Regions from separate parts of the Homo sapiens genome. Here region 2 is linked to region 1. The links are contacts of gene promoters, found by promoter capture Hi-C in human tissues and cell types (Jung and others, 2019). All regions are on one chromosome and are shown on one strand. The core of a region is centred on a gene start or on the middle of the fragment in contact, and the rest is flanking DNA. Distances in the headings are between cores, read along the strand shown. Region 1 holds the start of CDC42BPB (CDC42 binding protein kinase beta). Region 2 overlaps TRAF3 (TNF receptor associated factor 3).

What was found. The method cuts DNA at HindIII sites, captures the fragments that hold promoters and counts their contacts. A contact is called where the count stands out against the background at its distance.
Region 2: a fragment that was not itself captured here is called in contact with the fragment with the promoter of CDC42BPB in region 1 in 1 of the 25 tissues and cell types used here (dorsolateral prefrontal cortex).

Annotation. Positions count from the first base shown.
Region 1 is chr14:103,055,953-103,058,819 of GRCh38, forward strand. It overlaps CDC42BPB (CDC42 binding protein kinase beta), which reads right to left and starts at 1,597. Exons shown (of 37, transcript NM_006035.4): 1 at 1,047-1,597. The coding sequence starts at 1,221. RefSeq lists silencers at 1,269-1,348, 1,439-1,938, 1,979-2,088 and an enhancer at 2,084-2,734. The HindIII fragment of the contact is 24,533 bases long and covers 1-2,867 here.
Region 2 is chr14:102,789,483-102,792,213 of GRCh38, forward strand. All of the region lies in intron 1 of TRAF3 (TNF receptor associated factor 3), which reads left to right. LOC124903426 (small nucleolar RNA U13) reads right to left here and starts at 109; the gene lies at 9-109. RefSeq lists an enhancer at 986-1,055. The HindIII fragment of the contact is 5,003 bases long and covers 1-2,731 here.

The DNA of each region.
Region 1 (2,867 bases), core at 347-2,846:
CATACGCATTTCCTCCTCCTACTCAGTGGTTTTAGGTGAGACAGTCTGAGGGTCTTGACCGGCACACCCGTTAGGGAGAGATGAAGTAAAAGAGTTTCACGCTGCACTTTTACCTGTCTTTAGGATCCTAATTATCGTTAAATGGTTTAATCAAATTTTTGTCCTAAAAAAGCATAATAGGTTAGCTGACCAATGATTAAAACATTATAGATCCGGAACGAACTAGAGAAGGCATGCAAAATTCAGATGAGAAAGTTTCTAAGTGATAGCTCCAGCTACCCCTCCAAATATCACAAAGGTCTAGCAGAATTGGAATTAAAAAAAAAAAGTCCTCTTGCACGGTTTATTTAAAATAAAGCCTTAACCTTAAAATTCCCTTGAAGGTGTTACAGCAAAGTAGGTATTCAGGCTCTGACCAACAAGGGGATGTAGACAGGCTGTCACCCAGGAGGGGCCGTTAGAGCTGGGCTCCCTGGGGATGCAAGGGGGTCCCACGGGGCAGTGGGCGAGGCAGATGCAGAAAGCACACCCAGCTGCCCCCACAACGCAGAGAAGCGTGGGGTGGGGAAAGGGAACTAATTCCACACTGCCTCCGGACCCCAAAGGCGAGGTGCGGGGGCGGGGGCGGGGGCGGGGGCGGATATCCCAGTGAGTGCTGCAGGAAATGATATCCAGACTCGGAGGGTGGATCTAGGAAGCCGCCAGGGCGAGGGCCCGGCGGGGGGGAGGGGGTGGGAGTGGGAACGTAGGATGTGGCTCCAAGGGGCAGGATGAGGGGGCGGGACGATCGAACGCGGATGTCGAGCCTAGGGAGGGCAAGGAGGGATGAAAAGCTAGCGGAGGGACGAGGGTGCAAGGAGCGGCTGGAGAGAGATGGGCTGCGGGCCTGGGGGCGCTGCCAGAGCGAGAGGAGGCGAAGCCCACGAGCTGGGTGGGCAGGAGGGCGGCAGGGTCTGTCCGGGCGGGGATGGGCGGGCGTGGGGATGCGCGGGCTGGGGCGCGGGGGTCGCAGAGCCGCAGGTCCGGCCCTGCCGGCGCGCACTTACCCCACTCGAGGAACTCGGCCACGTACTTGTCGCGGCGCAGGGCCGAGTGGCTGCACTCGGTGTACAGGCAGACGAGCACGTCGAGCAGCGTTTCCACGCTCAGGGCGCTCTCGTTGCGCCAGGGCCCGTCCAGGAGCAGCTGCTCCAGCTTCTTGAGCCGCACCTTGGCCGACATGGTGCCGCGCGGCCCGCTCCCGACGCGCCGGCCTCTCACCGCCGGCTCGGCCAGTCCGTCAGGGCGCGCCCTCGGGGGCTCGGCGGCTGCGAGCCCCGGCAGCAGCGGCGCCTCCTCGCCGCCCCGTCCGCGTCGTCGCGCCCCGGCCTAGGCCGACATCTTGGGCTCCGTCCCGACGGCGCAGAGTCTGGGGCGCCGGGCCCCGCGGGTCCATGGGCCGCTCTCCTCCCCTCGGCGCCGCCGCCCTCCCAGCTCGGGCGGCCCGCCCCCGCCGCCCTCAGCCCCGCCCGCGGCCGCGCCCTCCCCGCCGCCGCCGCCGCAGACTAGGAGCGGCGAGGAGCCTAGCGCTGCGCAAGCCCGGCCGGCGCCCGAGCCCGACCCCAGCCCCGACCCGGCGGCCCAGCCCCGCGGCCCGCAGCCAACCAGGGCGCGGCCAGCACCAGCGCAGCCAACCACTACGGGGCCGGCCGCCGCCGCGCTGACCTCAGCGCGCCGCCCCGCCCCGCGCCCGGCTCCCTGCTCCCGGCGGGCTCGGGCCTCGCCGCTTGCCGTAGGGAGCCGGGATGCTGGGAAGGCAGGGCCGGGCCTGGGGAGCGGCGCGGGGTGGGGGTGGGGGGGGCGGGGCGGGGCGAGTGGGCCGCTGAGATTGCGGAGCCCGCGCATGCGCAGAGCGCGCCTGGTGGGCGTGTGCGCCTTCGCCCTGCGGACCCGGTGCCTTCAGTATTCGGGGTCCGACCGCGCGCGTCGCGGATCCCGGGGCCGAAGACGACCCCAAGTATCGGAGAGGCAGAGTCGCGATCTCAGGCCGTCGAGCCCCGTCCCGCAGTCCGCGGGCCCATGTTGCCTGCGGGGCCTCGGACCTGCCCGGCCGAGGTGGGGGTCGAGGGCGGCCCGGCAGGCGCAGCTCTGATGGCCTCGGCGGGTTGTGGGCTATTTAAAACGGCTTGTCCCAGCTCGAAGCGGTCCTGGAAGACTCGGGCCCTACCCCTGACTTTACCGATGAGAGACTGAGGCCCAGACGGTGTGGGGTCAGGGCCCAGGCTTCTGGGGGATGCTGCCAAGGCGGGAGCCAGCGTCCCCAGTGCCCGGTGGATTCGTGATGGCTTGCAGAGGGTTTCAGTTTCCACTGTCCAGCCCTCCCTGCAGACCAATGCCTAGGTGTGACAGTTTGGTAGGAAAGGGGCCGGATATTTGTCTCCAGGCTGGGTTTGCCTAGCGAGTCGCTGCATTTACTAAGATTGTTGGTTAATTTGGGTGGCTGGGGGAGGGAGGCTGATGGAGATACCCCCCAACCCCAACAAACCCTTGGCGTCAGGAGAGGAGGGGCTTTTCCTGGAGCTTGCGGAAGGTCACCGAAATCGTGGGGGTATCTGAGAGCTTCTGGGGCGCGCGGGTGCAGGGGAAGGGGTCATGCTTCCGTGGAAGCGGTGGCCTCCAGGTGGAGCCGATGAAGGGGCAGATAGGGGTTTGAAGCAGGACGTTAAGGGAGCCTGAAGCAAAACTAATCTCTGGAGCTAAAAATAGGAGTGGGCCTGGCGCGGTGGCTCACACCTGTAATCCCAGCACTTTAGGAGGCCGAGGTGGGCGGATTGCCTGAGCTCAGGACTTCGAGACCAGCCTGGGCAACACGGTGAAACCCCGTCTCT
Region 2 (2,731 bases), core at 162-2,661, 270 kb before region 1:
CTTTTTCATGTCATATGGGTAATGTGCCGACGTCATAACAAGGTTTCAGAGTGGCACCTCTCACACCTTCATTTGAATACCCAATCACACTTATGAACTACAAAAGGATATATGTGTGTGTGTGTGTGTGTGTGTGTGTGTGGTATGTGTATATGTATGTATATATTTTTGTTTAAAGCTATTCTAGTTAAAGTGGTATCTCGTGGTTTGGGTTTGTATTTTCTTGATGAGCAAAGATATTGAATGTCTTTTCATGTGACTCTTGGCCATTTGTGTATTTTTGGAGGGAAGACAATGTTTGTTGAGTTCTTTATATATTCTGAATGTTAAACTTTTTTTTTTTCTTCTTTTTTTTGAGACCGAGTCTCCTTCTGTTGCCCAGGCTGGAGTGCAGTGGTGCAGTGGCATGATCTTGGCTCACTGCAATCTCCGCCTCCTGGGTTCCAGCAATTCTCATGCCTCAGTCTCCTGAGTAACTGGGACTACAGGCACACGCCACCATGCCTGGCTAATTTTTGTATTTTTAGTAGAGATGGGGTTTTGCCATGTTGCACAGGCTGGTCTAGAACCCCTGGCCTCAAGTGATCCACCCACCTCAGCCTCCCAAAGTGTTGGGATTATAGGTGTGAGCCACTGCACTCAGCCTCTTCTGAGTTTTATTGTTTTAGTTTTTACCTTTAGGTTTTTGATCCATTTCAGTTAATTCTTGTATATGGAATGAGATAGGAGTCCCAATTCATTCTTTGTATGTTCTTATTTAGTTTTCCCAGCACCATTTATTGAAAACACTATTCTTTCCCTATTGAATCGTCTTGGCACCCTTGTTAAAAATAAATTGGCCATAGATGTTTGCATTTATTTCTGGACTCTCAGTTCTATTCTGTTGCTCTGTAAGTCTGTTACATCAGTACCACACTATATTAGTCTGTTCTCATGCTGCTAATAAAGACATACCTGAGACAGGGTAATTTATAAAGAAAAAGAGGTTTAATGGACTCATTGTTTCACATGGCTGGGGAGGCCTCACAATCATGGTGAAAGGCAAAGAAGGAGGAAAGGTATGTCTCACATGGCAGCAGGCAAGAGAGTCTGTGCAGGGGAACTGTGCTTTATAAAACCATCAGATCTTGTGAGACTTACTATCATGAGAACAGCACCCCCACGATTCAGTTACCTCCCCCTGGGTTCCTTCCCATAACATGTGGGGATTATATGAGCTACAATTCAATATGAGATTTGGATGGGGACACAGCCAAACCATATCACACACTGTTTTGATTACTGAAGCTTTGTAGTAAGTTTTGAAGTAGTAAGTTTGGGAAGTATGAGTCTCCCAACTTTTTCATTTTCTATATTGTTTTGACTATTTGGGGCCAGTTGCAACTTTATATGAATTTGAATATCACCTTTTTCATTTCTGCAAAAAAGGTCATTGGAATTTTAATAGGGAGGGGATTGATTCTGTAGATTGCTTTGGGGGGTTGCAATCTTAACAGTATTGTCCTCCAATCCATGAACGTGAGATGTCTTTTCTTTTCTTTTTTTTTTTTTTTTCGAGAGGGAGTCTCGCTCTGTTCCCCAGGCTGGAGTGTAGTGGCACAGTCTCGGCTCACTGCAACCTCCGCCTCCCGGGTTCATGCCATTCTCCTGCCTCAGCCTCCCGAGTAGCTGGGACTACAGGCACCTGCCACCATGCCTGGCTAATTTTTTGTATTTTTTGTAGAGACGGGGTTTAACTGTGTTAGCCAGGATGGTTTCAATCTCCTGATCTCGTGATCCACCCACCTCGGCCTCCCAAAGTGCTGGGATTACAGGTATGAGCCACCGCGCCCAGCTGAACTTGGGATGTCTTTTCATTCAATTATGTCTCCTTTAATTTCTTTAAGCAATATTTTGTAGTGTTAGTGTACAAATCATTCATCTCTTTGGATAAATTTATTTCTGGGTGCTTTATTTTTGTGGGTTCTATTGTAAATGAAATTATTTTCTTACCTTTCTTTTTGTATTGCTCATTGCTGGTATATAGAAACAACTGATTTTTGTATGTTGGTCTTATGCCCTACAACCTTGTTGAATTTATTACCTCTAGTAGTTATTTTGTGGGTTCTGTGGGATTTCTTTATACAGAATCATGTCACCTGCATATATAATTTACCTCTTCTTTCTAATTTGAATGCCTTTTATTTCTTTTTCTTGCCTAATTGCTCTGGCTAAGACATTTAGTAAAATTTTGAATAGGAGTGATGAAAGTGAGCATCCTCATATTGTTCCTGATCTTAGGGGAAGCTTTTCACCATTGATTATGAAGTTAGCTGTGTTTTCTTTCTTTCCTTTTTTTTTTTGTTTTTGACACAGGGTCTTGCTCTGTCACCCATGCTGGAGTGCAGTAGTGCAATCATGGCTGACTTCAACCTCTGCCTCCCAGGCTCAAGCGATCCTCTCACCTCAGCCTCCTGAGTAGGTGGGACCAAAGGCACATGCCACAATGCCCTGCTGTTTTTTTTTATTTTTTATTTTTGGTAGAGATGGGTTTCGCCATGTTGCCCAGGCTAGTCCCAAACTCCTGAGCAGTCAGCCCACCTTGGCCTCCCAAAGTGCTGGGATTACAGGTGCGAGCCACTGTGCCTGGACTTTTTTTTTTTTTTTTTTTTTTTTTTTATCAGACCAGGTCTCACTCTTTTGCCCAGGCTGGAGTACAGTGATGTGATCATAGCTCACTGCAGTCTTGAAC